3 separate regions of the Homo sapiens genome follow, and all the other regions are linked to region 2. Evidence: promoter capture Hi-C in human tissues and cell types (Jung and others, 2019). All regions are on one chromosome and are shown on one strand. The core of a region is centred on a gene start or on the middle of the fragment in contact, and the rest is flanking DNA. Distances in the headings are between cores, read along the strand shown. Region 1 overlaps TEAD4 (TEA domain transcription factor 4). Region 2 holds the start of TEAD4 (TEA domain transcription factor 4). Region 3 has its middle 24 kb from the start of TSPAN9.

Region 1 (4,652 bases), core at 664-3,163, 72 kb before region 2:
AGCAGAGACAGCCGCAGCCCGGGTGTGGGGGCCTGGAGGGGCTCAGATTCATTGTCATGTGCTGGTATGTGCCTGGGAGAAATGTCAGGGACTGAAAGGGAAGAGCAGGCTGAGATGGGAGGAAGGCCTGGGGTACTCTGCTGCCTCCACGGTGCAGCCCGGCTCTGCCTGGCATTTCCAATGTGCAGAGCGGCGTTAATGGCCACCAAAGGCCCCCTCTCACCGGCCCCAGAGACAGGTGGCCTCTGCTGGACTTGCGGGGCTCTGGGGGAGGAAGGGAGCTTCATCGCATCAGTCCCTCGCTCCAGGCCCCGTGGCGCTCAGCAGATAGGGCTGAGGCTGTGCACAGCCCTAGCAGCCTCAGCCCTTCAGGCTGGCAGATGCCACTTCTAGCTGGAAATGTGTCCCAGCAGTCCGAGAGTCTATGAATGACCACCACAGCGCCCTCAGTAAGAGCAGTAACTCAGGGGACAGGCAGGGAGGCTGGACTGGAGACGGACAAGTCCTCCTCCCACTCCAAGGGGGTTCTGATTGCCTCTCCAGCACACACATTCAGGGCCTGGGAGCCAGGACTGAGAAAACAGCCAGGCAGGAAAAGAAAGGCTCCGGGAGAGGCGACACCGTTTCCTTGCCTGAGCAGTTTTCCTTCCTAACTGTGTGTGGCCAAGTTCACACCAGCTGATGGAGGGGGAAGGCGGGACCAGGCCAGGGAGCAGAAGACAGGAGCTTCCCGATGCGGGGGGAGCCGGGGCAGCCTGTGAGGACCCACGATTGACGCAAAGTCTCATTGTCAGCAAACACGAATATGTACCTTTCCCCGTCACATATGTGTCTTCCTCTGGTGCCTCTGCCCGCCCCACACATGCGGAGGAGGGAGCAGATGACCGCCAAGGTGCCCTGGCCTCCGGCGCTCCCTCATCTCTGATTTCACCTGCCCAGGCCGCTGGCACTCAGAGGGCTCAGGCAAGGGGTGGGGCAAGGGCAGGCCACAGCCCCCCACTCAGTACCAGCCGGCCACATACACGGGGTCTTCAGCGACACAGCCCCTGGCAGGTCCCCAAGATCAAACTGCTGACTATTCACACAAAGAAGCAGAGGCACAGAGAAGCCAATATTTGCCCAGGACACAGTTCTCAAGTGGTAGAACTGAGACTCTGCCCCAGCTGGGGCCAACTGCTGCCCACCGTGCCCTGCCATGACACATCAGAAGGGCCTTGCTGGGGGGCACACCACAGCCCCCTGTCCAGCGGCTCCTGTCCCAGGACCCCGAGACTCGCGCTGGATCCTCCCATCCAGAGTGCGAGCTCCTGGAAGCCGAGGGCCGCGCTGGGTCCGTACAGCACACGGCTGGAGCACACGGTCCACAAGGGAACCTGCTGAATCCCATGTCTTTGGCACCAGCTGTCCCAACCCTCTCTTCTCCCATCAACCCCCACCTCCAAACTCCCCTAAGAGTCAGAAAGAAAGAGAGGACACAGGCCACTACCAAGTTTGGAAAAGTACCTTCTAGGTCCTCCTTCCTTCCTGGCAACCTTAGTCTCCACGCAGGGCCACTGCCCTATTTTCTGGAAGGGATATCTGAGGTCGAGAACGCCCAAGAAGCCCAAGGGGCTGGCTCTACATTGACTGCACAGAGCTAAGTCTGCTCTCCCCACGCTGCCACTGCCTGCTGTTCCTCAGGGGGCTGGGGATCTGTTTTAGACAATTCAGAGCCTTCTCCAGTGGGAGCAGGAGAAGCTCCAGGATGCTGCATGGAGGGCAGCCAGTGACTTCGCAAGGAGGACTGTTTAGTATGGTGGCTCCAAGCACACACCCTGGGGTCAGGCTGCTCAGGTATGGACCCGTGGTCTGGTATGGGTCTGGTACTATGAACTGGGCAACCTTTGGCAGGTGATTCTACCTGTCTGTACCTCAGTTTCCCCTCTGCAGATGAGGTTATCCAGTCTTGGCTGTGGTGAGGATGAGACGTGTGACTGTATGTAACGTGGTGAGAAGAGTGCAGCTGTCATCTCTCTCAGTCTATCTGGGCCCATCTATCTCACAGCATGTATCCAACAGGAGTGCCCACAGGACAGAGGTCACCCTGGCTGGGGGACTCAGGGCCAGGCCCTGCTTACTCCATGCCTCAGTTTCCCCTACTTGTGAAACAAGAGACCTAGGATGGTCCTTATCTGGAGGGTGGCTAGAAGAACACAGAATATCACCAATAGCTAAAGGCAGGAGCTAGTGCAAGAGGGTCCCGGACATGCCACCTCCCGCTCCAAGGCAGTGTTCCCATGAGTGCTTCCTGCCACTGCCAACTGGGTCTCCGCTCTGACCCCAACTGTATCCCCAGGGTCCTGAGCCATGCCGGGAAAGAGCCACAGATCAGCTCGCCTAAGCTCCTTCCGCTGAGTCAGGGCTGAGCCTGGACAGGCCGGGGGCGGTGAGTGCTCAAGCAAGGGTGAAGGCTTCTCCAGGGGGCTGGGGGCCCCCTCAGACTCACAGCAGGGTTGGGAAGCGCCACTGCCAGCTGTACAGGTTCCAATTCCCACAACCGGGGCTGGACGGGAGACTGGGAGATGATTTAAGCCCCTCCTGAGAAAAAGTGGACAGCATCCTGCCTCCCACGCCACACCCTGAAGCCAGCCTCTCGGCCGAGGTCCTCAGGAGGCACATGCGTCTTGCCTGGTCTCCACTGCAGGAGTCTCACACCTGCTTCCAGTCTGGGTGCCAGAGTTAACCAACTAAGCACAACCCTGGCCACGTCCTGCCCTGTTCGAAAACCTTAAATGACTCCTCATCGCTTAAGGAGAAGGGCTAACAAATATTTCCCTGGCTACGCACGTGGCCATGACCGTCCACCCAGCACTCCTCCCTGCTAGAGCCTTCTCAGCCCAGCACTCCAAACAGCGACTGCCGACCCCTTCGAAGTGGCACACAGGTCACCCCATCATCCTGGACACCTGGCTAAAGGTGGGAGACTGACTACCCCAGTTTATTTTTTCCCCTTCCAGAGACCCAGCTAGAAGGACAACAGCAAGTAACTTTAAACAATATGCAGCACCACAAAGATAAAGAAAACAAAGAGACCAGCTGACAAGAGAGCTGGGCAAGCTTTGGAGACTCAAAGCTGATTAGGACCACACTGGATTCCACGGGGTAGAGAAAGCAAAAAGAGTCACAACCTACCAATATCTTCAGGGGTGACAGATAAGAAGCTGAGCTGCGTGGCTCGGAGCTGGAGGGAACAGGATTTGTCCCCAGGAACTGACAAAAAGTCTGTACACTGGACAGTCCAGCCCCCAGGCCCACCCCTCCCATGCATCGGTAGAAGATCAAAGGGTCAGCCGGGTATGGTGGCTCCTGCCCGTAATCCCATTACTTTGGGAGGCTGAGGCAGGAGAATGGCTTAAGCCCAGGAGTTTAAAACCAGTCTGGGCAACATAGCAAGACCCTGTCTCTATGAAATTAAAAATTAAAAAACACACCAACAAACAAAAAAACTTTTTAAAGAGGACCAAAGGGTGACCATCTTCAGAAATTAAACAGGAGGGCAACAGGTCTCAGGGACACAGGGCTTATTCAAAAGAGAGGGAAGAGGGGGAGTAAGAACAGGAGAGTTAAGTGAAAGCCAGCATCAGAAATGGTCAGGGCCCCTACCCCCGACCCTTTATCCCACTACCAGAACACTTGTGACCAAGTATGTCCCTTCCAGGGAAATTAGATGAATCGTCTCTGGAGAAACTAAATCACCTCAGGGGGAAAAAAAAGTCCAGTAAACACACATATTTATTGATTTCCCCAATAAAACAGCTAGCTCCCCAAGCCCAATCACCCTAAAGCGAAACCCACCAGGTGACAAGTCCTACCTTGCACGAAGAGCTCCCAGTCACTACTAAATATAACCAGAACAAATAACAAAAGGAAAACTTGATAAACTGGACATCATCAACACTAGAAACGTTTGTGCATCAAAGGACACTACTAGGAATGTGAAAAGGGGCCAGGCACAGTGGCTCACACCTGTAATCCCAGCACTTTGGAAGGCTGAGGCAGGAGGATCACTTGAGGCCAGGAGTTCAAGACCAGCCTGGGCAACATAGTGACACCCTCTATAAAAAATTTAAATAAAAATAAAAACTTGGGCCGGGCGCGGTGGCTCACGCCTGTAATCCCAGCACTTTGGGAGGCCGAGGCTGGTGGATCACGAGGTCAGGAGATCGAGACCATCCTGGCTAACACAGTGAAACCCCGTCTCTACTAAAAATACAAAAAAATTAGCTGGGCGTGGTGGCGGGCGCCTGAAGTCCCAGCTACCTGGGAGGCTGAGGCACAAGAATGGCGTGAACCCGGGAGGCGGAGCTTGCAGTGAGCCGAGATCATGCCACTGCACTCCGGCCTGGGTGACAGAGTGAGACTTCATCTCAAAAAAAAAAAAAAAAAAAAAATTGGCCAGGCGTAGTAGTGCATGCCTCTAGTCCCAGCTACTCAAGAAGTTGAGGCGGGAGGATCACTTGAGCCCAAGTTCAAGGTTGCAGTGAGCAATAATCATGCCAGTGCACTCCAGCCTGGAAGACACAGCAAGACCCTGTCTCTGAAGAAAAAAAGAAAAAAGAATGTGAAAAGACATTCAACAGAATGGGAAATAATAATTACAAATCATATAACTG
Region 2 (4,458 bases), core at 987-3,486:
CTCGTATTACCCACCAGGAAACAGCCTGAGAGCCTTAAAGGTAGTGAGAGACTCAGGATTTGTACCCTGGTCTGCCTGACCCCAAACCTGTGCCCTTTCCACTCCATCAGTGCTGCTTTTAGACCAGTCGCACACCAGGCCGAAGAGGTGAGAGGGTGAGGTGTTTCCCACAAGAACATCCACATCCTCAGGATGGATGGAGGAGCAAGGACGAGAACCCCCAACCCCCGAGACAGTTTCTGGCTCCTTCCTTCCAAGAAGCCCTACACATGATATCCACGTTGAAGCCCTCATGCAACAAGCTACTCATTCCTCTTCTCAAAGGAAGTGCTGAGTGTCTGGCAAGTTGGAAAGAATGAGGGATTCTTCTACTGGGTTACCTGGTCAGCTCCGAGGAGAGTTAAACCAGGAAAAGTAGTTCAGGCTGGTATACCTCCCTGTTTGTCCTTGAGGGCAACTTAAAAGCACTATTTACACAAGTCTCCAGATTCAAAACTGTCTCCTTTTCCCGGGGATCCACCCCGACAAACCTTCCCAAATCTCACCCGCCCATCCCATCCCCCAAAGGCAAAGATCTCAACTTCCTTCAGCCTCCTACCAGCTTTTTGACCTATTCCAGGCAAGCACAAGACCCTCGCCCTGAGAAAGTCAGCCTCCTGGCTCCAAGAGGCAGGTGGAGCCAGCTTCCTTCCAGCTCTGCCCGGTCCAGGGGAAACGGAGCCTGGAGGCCACACACTCCAAAACCACAGTCAAATTATCCCTGCACTCAGGCAACCAGAGACACTGACTCTTGCCCACGGCTATGTAGGGAGGAAGAACAGTCCTAGCCAGAACCAACATCCTCGAAGAGAAACACATACTCAAGAGACGTGGCATCACACACCTACTCAGAGATACTCACTTTCAGACAGCCCCTTCTCACGCAGACATATACACACACTCTGTCACTCACGTTCAACACAAACAAATACGCCCACTGGAAGCCAAGGTGAGCCACACGTGAACAGACATCACCCACACAGAGACTCAAAGCGAGGGGGACTCGCAGTCAGGTGTCACACAGACTCAGCACAGACGCAGTCAGTCCGCGGGGCCTCAAGTGCCTCAGCACAACGGGGGAAATGTTCACTTTGGGGTTTGAAAGTTCTGCTCCCTGGATCGATCCACTAGTCCCCATCAGGAAACACAGCAGCTTCCCAAGCCCTGAGGTGTAGGACCTTTTGCAGGGGTCCCCCGACTTTCGCATCGCCTTTGCACTTAAAACAGGCAGTCCGCTTACCTCCAGGTCTCTCCCTTCCAGGCTCGAAAAGGGCCCAGCAGAAAAGAGGCATGGGTGCTGGGTCTCTTCTGTTGCCGATGCTCTCGGTTCTGCCTCTCCGGTCCTTTCCACACCGGCCTCCCTTTCCCCCAAAGTCCCGAGTGTCCACCCCCCTTACCCGCCCCTGGAGCCGCTTCGCCTCCAGCAGCCTCAGTCGCGCCGCCTCCACGTGCCTCGCTCTTCCCAGTCTCGTCCCGGGAGGGAGCTCCGCACGCACCGCGCAGACTCCTGCCCTCCGGCAAAGTCCTACCAAGTCCCCGCGCCCCAGCCTTACCGGTCCCAGGGTGCGGGAAGGTGGGATGGGTGCGCTAAGCCAGTTCCAAGGAGTCCGCCCCGAGCGCCAACTCTTCCGGCCGCGGCGATCGTTCTGCGGGGACGACAGGGCGTCAGCGCGCAGAGCCGGGCTCCGGCCGGGGCCGACGGGCGGCGCAGTGAAGGCGGGGCCGCGGGGCCAAGCCCACCCCGCGCCGACCGGCCCCGGTGCGCCCAGCGGAGCGGAGCGGAGCGCGCGGAGGGAGGAGTTTTCCCAGAATGGGACTGACGGGAAAACACGGGGATCCCTATTCCTGGAGGAGTGAGTCAACCGGGAGCGAGGAGGGGAGCGCGGGGCGGACAGGAGGGAAGCGGGAGAGGGGCAGCGAGCAGCGCCGGAGCGCGGAGGGAAGCCAGAGGTCGGGACGGAGCGCGTCGGAGCGCAGAGGTCCAAGGCGGGAACGCGGGCGGCGGAAAGAAAAGAGCAGCCGAGCACGCGGCGCGAGCGGTCGGCTGCGGCGGCGTGGGGCGCGCGGCCCGTGAGGGCGCCGGCGGGTGCGGCGGGCGCGGGCGCCTCTCACCTGGCGGGACGCGGCGGCGCCGGAGCTGCGGCCCTCCCGCCCCCTGGCCTCGAGTGTGCGAGGAGGACGCTGGAATGCGCGGAATGAGGGCTGGAATGAGATGCGCGCCGCGGCGGGAGGGAGGGAGCCGGAGGGAGTGGCGGCGGGGCCACCGGCACCTCGGGGAGGAGACTGCGCCGCGCGCGGGCGGGCGAGGGGCCGGGCCGCCGGGGCGGGGCGGGGCCGGGCCGGGCCGGGGCGGGCGGCGGGGGAGGGGGCCGAGGGACGGCGGGGACCCCTCCACCCGGGCCTCGGCTGCGGCCCCCACGCCCACTAGCCCTTCGATCTCTCCGCTCCGACTGTTTGGCTGCTCGTTGCGCGCCCCGCGCCCTCCCCTCCTGGCGGGGTCCCGACTCCCTTTCCCAGGAGCCGAGAGCCTTCCTCTTCGCCGGGGTGGGGCTGTCCCGGGGGCGGGGGGGTGGACGGGGCCCAGACTCCCGCCCCGCCACCCGGCGTCCCTCCGCACGAGTCCCTGGGAGGCCGGGGAAGGGGCGGGCTCCCGGCGCGCAGGAAGGGCTGCTCCCTTCCTGCGGCTCCCACCAAAGGACACTTGCTCCGGGGAACCAGGAAGCAGGAACTCGCGGGCTCCATTCCCAGATCCGCTGCCAGTGCCCCCTCGCTTGCCCTCCCCGGCTTTAGCTCTTTCCGTTTTTCTCTCCTGCCCCTTGGGCATCTGTAAAACCGCCACTACGAGTAAACCACATGGGAGAAAGGGCACTCGGTTTGAAGTCCATGTGGCATGCCATGGGACGCCTTCTGGGCTCAGTGACTCAATGAATATTCATCTAAGATGTGTGATGAGTCCAGATACTGTGAAGATCAGGATCAGCCGTCAGCACCTGCCCTCAAAGAGCTCAGAGTTTAGCTGGGGAGGCCTCGGTGTATACTGCCATCGGTGAGAGTCTGGACTTCAGACACACATGCCCAGGAGTCTCTTATTGGGGCAGGAGGTGCTGGAAACACGCTGGGCTCCTTGTTTGGAGACGCTTAGGACAAACGGGCTTAAAGCAGTGTGCTGGCAGGTAGCGCCATCATCTACCTGGCCAGGAGACTGAAACCAAAGGACTTTTGGCTTTTTCCAAAAATCAAATCCAACCTTTTCTGGGGCATTATCACTTAGCCTTGTGTTGGGTGGTTGTCTAGATCTTATCTCCCTTGCCAAACAGAAACTTCCTTGAAGACAGAGTAATGTCTGATTTATCTTATCTTTCACACAGATCCAGCCTGGTGCCTGGGATAGGGAAGTGCATGATAAATGCTGCATAAATGAAAAACAATTGCTACCGTGGAAGATATTGAAAGGAAAGTGCTATCGATGCCAAAGTTGTTTCCAAGAGAGGTATTCCAAAAGTGTTTCAAGCAATGACTGAGCTAAGCATCCAGTCCTGCAAGGTGAAGGCGTTGAAGACGCAGCCCTCATTTGAATAGATGAATTGTGGTATTCTTGTTAAATAATGAATCATATCAAGGCTTGGTCACACCTCATGCACATGAAAAGACCAAAACGCAAGGCAGCATATCAGCGCCACGTGAAGTACACACTAAGCACCAACTATTTAATTCAGCAATCATGGGGGGCCCGGTGGCTCACGCCTGTCATCTTAGCAATTTGGGAGGCCGAGGCAGGTGGATCGCTTGAGCCCAGGAGTTCGAGATCAGCCTGGGCATCATGGTGGCCTGCACCTGTAGTCCCAGCTACTCAGGAGGCTGAGGTGGGAGGATAGTTTGACCCCAGAAAGTTGAGGCTGCAGTGAGCCGTGAATGCACCACTACACACCAGCCTGGATGACAGAGCGAAACCCTGTCTCAAAGTAATTAATAATAATTATATTAATTCAGCAATCATTGGAGTGTTTGTTGACTTTGACACCGCACTAAGGGAAGGAGTAGGTCCCTTTCCTCAAGTAGTTCCAGTCTAGGTGAGAAGACAGACAATTATGCAAAGTTCAATGGGAACCCAAGGGAAGGAACAGTGAAATCCAATTACAGTGCATTTGATCTAGCTCTTGAGGATAAATGAGGGTTTGCCAAACTGAGACTGGAAACCCCATTTAAGACACATGGAATAGCACCTACAAAGGTGAGGCAGCCAGTCTGCTGGTGTGTTTAGCGAAGCTATGTAAACTGGTGTGGCTGGAGAATAGAGATGTGGATAATAAGATTGAAGGAAGTGGATACCAGACTTTGAAGGTCATTGCGTGCCATGCTGAAGAGTTAGGCATCAAAAAAGACACAAGTGTGACTTAATCAGCAGCACCATCAAGAAGA
Region 3 (4,970 bases), core at 113-2,612, 96 kb before region 2:
GCACCTGCCGCCTCTCACTTCTGCATCTCACACTCCCTCTGTTGATCTAGTGTGTGTGTGGCCTTGCCTCTGTCACGCAGATCAGATCCAAGAGTAGTTTGGGTATGGCTGGGAGGGGGAGAAATAGAATAGGAGGCCTGACACAACTCTTCATTTGTTATGTGACTCCCCCCAGTAGAATATAAGCTCCTTAAGGGCAGGGACTTTGATTTTATTCACTGCTGCATCCCCAGCAGACAGAACAGTGCCCAACACACCCTAGGTGCTTAGTACATGTTTATGGGATGAATGAGGCCTGTCTGGACTCTAGGCATTCCTAGAATTCCTACTGGAGGCCCTGGGAGGACACAAACCCAGAGGAGGGAGCAGGGCAGAGGGCTAACAGAAAATGGAGGCCACCCGGGGAATGTGATGAGTTGCCAAACCAGGAGAGCAAAAGCAAATATCAAAGCCAGGGACTCCAGCCAGGAATCCAAGCCCCAGCCAGATGAAGAGAAAGAGCAAGTGGGCCAATTATAAGCCGGGAGGGGCTCGAGGCCTTCCCAGGAGCAGGCATCTGAGGCGTGCTTTCATGTGTCTCCAGGGCCAGTGCTAGGGTGGGTCCGTCAAGATGAAAGGGGCACAGGGATGTGATGGACGGAATGGTGTTTCCTGGGGGCTCTTCCTTTTCCAGAACTAATGCTGGGAGACAGCGTGTGGTCTAAGAAGTCACAGGCTGGCTTTGAGTCCCAGCTTCCACTCTCCGACTGTGTCAACTTGAGCGAGTTACGTACAAGTCACTCACCTTTGCTTGCTGTTAAGACGGTGCAAACCCCTAAACAGCTTAAAATCAGAAATCTGTGTGTCCCCGGCAACTTCAACATAATGTTGGCAGACACCAGCCCCAAAGGGTCTGTGCAGGATTGGTGGGGATTTAGAGAAAGAAATTGGAAAGAAGTCAGCAAAGTAGTTACTGACAAGGAAAAGCAGAATAAGAGAATCATGCCAAACTTCAAAACTTCTCAGCTTGGCCTCTGAGGGAGCGAGGCTGTGAAGAGAAGCAGATCCCTTTGATTCTGAGAAAACATTGATATAGTCACAAGACACTCAGCAGACTCTTGGTCTGAACATCTGATTACTCCCTGATTACTTCTAAGATGGGATTGCTAGCGCGCCAGCTGGCAAGCACATTTCCCTCTCGTGGTGCTTGTCTAATGTTTACTTCCCTCTATTCTCCACAATCTCCTGCACCCCACATCACCCCTATAGAAATATTTTACTAGCCTGGGCAACATGGCAAAACTCTGTCTCTACAAAAAAAAAATAATACCGAAAAATAAGCTGGCCGTGGTGGCGTGTGCCTGTGGTCCCAGCTACTCTGGAGGTTGAGGTGGGAGGATTGCTTGAGCCTAGGAGGCAGAGGCTGCAGTGAGCCAAGATCGGGCGACTTCACTCCAGCCTGGGCAACAGAATGAGATCTTGTCTTAAAAAAAAGAAAAAAAAAGAGAGAGAGAGAGAGGAAAGGCAGGAAGACAGGAAGGCAGGCAGGAAGGCAGGAAGGAAGGTAGGAAGGCAGGGAGGCAGGGAGGCAGGGAGGCAGAGAGGCAGGGAAGGAGGGTAATTGTTGCACCAAAAAGGGATTGCTTTCTCCCTTAATGCTGGTGCTCTCTGGGGCCTTCAGGGCCAGCTTCCAACTCTCCTACCTGGCCTTAGGCAAACCCTGCACATGCGTCACCTGCTGTCCACCTCTTTTCACGAGCACTGTGGAGGCGCCAGGACTTCCAAGTTGAAGTACAGTGCAAGATCTGCAACCTAGTAACCAAGTGGCGTTGAGTTAGTGATTTCTCTGAGCCTCTATTTCTTCATCTGTGAAGAGGATGTCTACAGTATCACAGTGTAGCTGTAAACGGCAAGAAAGACGTTGTATTTGAAAGCGCTTTGTAGGGGGCCAGGCGAAGTGGCTCACACCTGTTATCCCAGCACTTTGGGAGGCTGAGGTGGGCGGGCAGATCACGAGGTCAGGAGATCGAGACCATCCTGGCTAACACGGTGAAACCCCGTCTCTACTAAAAATACAAAAAATTAGCCGGGCGTGGTGGCGGGCGCCTGTAGTCCCAGCTACTCGGGAGGCTGACGCAGGAGAATGGCGTGAACCCGGGAGGCGGAGCTTGCAGTGAGCCGAGATCGTGCCACTGCACTCCAGCCTGGGCGACAGAGCGAGACTCCATCTCAAAAACAAAAAACAAACAAAAACAACAACAAAAAAGAAAGTGCTTTGTAAACTGAAAAGTGCTGTAGTCAGGGTGGCTGGGCACAGTGGTTCATGCCCATATCCCAGCACTTTGGGAAAACAAGGCAGGAGGATCACCTGAGTACAGGAGTTCGAGACCAGCCTGGGCAACATAGTGAGACCTCCATCTCTAAAAAATAAAATGAAATAAATTAGCGGGGTGCGATGGCATGCACGTGTAGTCCCAGCTACTCAGGAAGCTGAGGTAGTAGGATTGCTTAAGGCAAGGAATTCTAGGCTGCAGTGAGCTATGATCACACCACTGCACTCCAGCTCAGACAACCAAGCAAGATCTTGTCTCTGGGAAAAAAAAAAAGAAGAAGAAGAAGCTGGGCACAGTGGCTCAGGCCTGTAATCCCAGCACTTTAGGAGGCCAAGGCAGGAGGATTTCTTGAGCCCAGGAGTTTGAGACTGGCCTGGGTAACATAGTGAGACCCCTGTCTCTACAAAAAATTTTAAAATTAGCCAGGCGTGGTGGCGCATGCCTGCGTCCCCAGCTATTCAGAAGGCTGAGGTGGGAGGATCACTTGAGCCCAGGAGCTCAAGGCTGCAGTGAGCCATGATCACGGCACTGCACTCCAACCTGGGCAACAGAGTGAGGCCATCTCTAAAAAAGAAAAAAAAGTTTCCAGGAGTAGTGGTCAAATGCTATTGACAGAGAGTTAAGATGAGGGCAGAGAAATGCATTTGTCGTAGAGATCCCTGGTTTCCTCTACTTCCTGAGTAATAGGATTCCTCCATATGGCATATGGTCACTCAGAATAAAAACTATATTTCCTAGGGGCTCCTGCAGCTAAGTGAGGCCAATGAAGGTAAGCAGAAATGCAATTTCCAGAAATTCCCAAAAGGGAGGGGCATGCTCTTCTTCACTCCTTTTTCTTTCTTTCTTTCTTTTTTTTTTTTCTGGAATCTTAAAATTTATTTTGCCATTTTCCATGGAATATAATAAGAACACCATAAAAATGTGTATCAGTACATTATAAAATTGTAAAGCTTATATTAGTAAAATCTTGAAAAGTAAACTATAGAAATAGCATAAAACAGCAGAGTTCGACATTTGAGCAACCCATTGTCTAAGAAAGCATTGTCTTAGTCCTTTTGCGCTGCTATAACAGATATCTGGGACTGGTTTATTTATAAAAAATAAAAATTTACTTCTCTCAGTTCTGAAGGCTGGGAAGTCCAAGATCAAGGTTCCAGCAAATTCTGTGTCTGATGAGGGTCCAATTTTGGTTTCCACAATGGTGGCTTGAAAGCTGCATCCTCCAGAGGGGAGGAACACTGTCCTCACTTGGCAGAAGGCAGAAGGGCAAAAGGGCCAACAGCCATGGGAAGCCTCTTTCATAAGGGCACTAATCCTGTTCATGAGGGGAGAAGTCCTTATGATATAATCACCTGTTAAAGGCCCCACCTCTTAATACTATCACATTGACAACACCTGAATTTTGCAGGGGACACATTAAAACCATAGCAGCATAGATCTTACTTTCTTTTTTTTTTTTTTTTAAACTGAGTTTCGCTCTTGTTGCCCAGGCTGGAGTGCAACGGCCCAATCTCGGCTCACCGCAACCTCCGCCTCCCAGGTTCAAGCAATTCTCCTGCCTCAGCCTCCCGAGTAGCTGGGATTACAGGCATGCACCACCACGCCCAGCTGATTTTTTTTTGTGTGTGTGTTTTTAGTAGAGATGGGGTTTCCCCATGTTGAGGCTGGTCTCGAACTCCTGACCTCAGGTGATCCGCCCACCTCAGCCTCCCAAAGTGCTGGGATTACAGGCATGAGCCACCGCGCCCGGCCGCATAGATCTTACTTTCTTACTCGATTTCAGACATTGAGGTGTCAGCAACATACATAACTACCAGATATTACCAGAAAAAGATGATAACAGAAATTTTGTTAACAGATGTTAGGAGAAAAAAAAAAAAGCAGTCTCCCTACCACAAAATCTTGTCAGGGCCTTCAAAAGCTTCACTCCTTTTTCTTTTCAGTTGAATGGAATGTTATGTAATGGTCTTGGATTTCCTGAAGCTCTTCTGGACCATGATATTACCTTAGGAATAGAAACTACCCATTGTAAAGCAACAAGGTAAAATGATCTTGGAGCTAGGTATGGTGGCTCACACCTGTAATCACAGCACCTTGGGAGGCCAAGGGGGCAGACTGCTTGAGTCCAAAATACTCCAACGTGGTGAAACCCTGTCTCTGTGGAAAATACAAAAAATTTGCTGGGCATGGTGGCACACACCCAGAGTCCCAGCTACACAGGAAGCTGAGGTAGAAGGATCCCTTGAGCTCGAGAGGCACAGTTTGCAGTGAGCTGAGATCGTGCGACTGCACTCCAACCTGGGTAATAGAGTGAGACTGTCTGAAAAAAAAAAAAAAGATATTGGGTCCTTGATACCATGGAGTACCTTAACAATAATGGACAGATTTCATGAGAGAGAAATACTTTTCTATCTTAAATCACTTATATCATGCCATTGCGCTTCCAGCCTGGGCGACGAAGCAAGACTCTGTCAAGGGAAGGGGAGAGGAGGGGAAGAGAGGGGAAGGGGGAGAGAGAGAGAGAAAGGGAGGGAGAGAAGGAGGGAAAGAAGAAAGAAAGAAAGAAGAAAGAAAGACAGACAGACAGAAACAAAGAAAGGAAGGAAGGAGAGAGAGAGAGAGAAAGAGAAAGAGAAGGGAAAAGAGAAAAGAAGAAAG

The links. The method cuts DNA at HindIII sites, captures the fragments that hold promoters and counts their contacts. A contact is called where the count stands out against the background at its distance.
Region 1: a fragment that was not itself captured here is called in contact with the fragment with the promoter of TEAD4 in region 2 in 2 of the 25 tissues and cell types used here (H1 embryonic stem cells and IMR-90 fibroblasts).
Region 3: a fragment that was not itself captured here is called in contact with the fragment with the promoter of TEAD4 in region 2 in 6 of the 25 tissues and cell types used here (aorta, dorsolateral prefrontal cortex, hippocampus and 3 more).

The regions. Positions count from the first base shown.
Region 1 is chr12:3,029,012-3,033,663 of GRCh38, reverse strand. All of the region lies in intron 10 of TEAD4 (TEA domain transcription factor 4), which reads right to left. Among named protein-coding and RNA genes, the nearest start is that of TSPAN9, 46 kb to the left of the region's middle. RefSeq lists an enhancer at 938-1,499. The HindIII fragment of the contact is 4,891 bases long and covers 1-4,358 here.
Region 2 is chr12:2,957,175-2,961,632 of GRCh38, reverse strand. It overlaps TEAD4 (TEA domain transcription factor 4), which reads right to left and starts at 2,236. Exons shown (of 13, transcript NM_003213.4): 1 at 2,152-2,236; 2 at 1,593-1,685. LOC124902859 (a long non-coding RNA gene) reads left to right here and starts at 1,585. Exons shown (of 2, transcript XR_007063159.1): 1 at 1,585-1,892; 2 at 3,408-4,035. RefSeq lists an enhancer at 1,331-2,066. The HindIII fragment of the contact is 29,957 bases long and covers 1-4,458 here.
Region 3 is chr12:3,051,324-3,056,293 of GRCh38, reverse strand. No RefSeq gene overlaps it. Among named protein-coding and RNA genes, the nearest start is that of TSPAN9, 24 kb to the left of the region's middle. The HindIII fragment of the contact is 4,772 bases long and covers 1-3,748 here.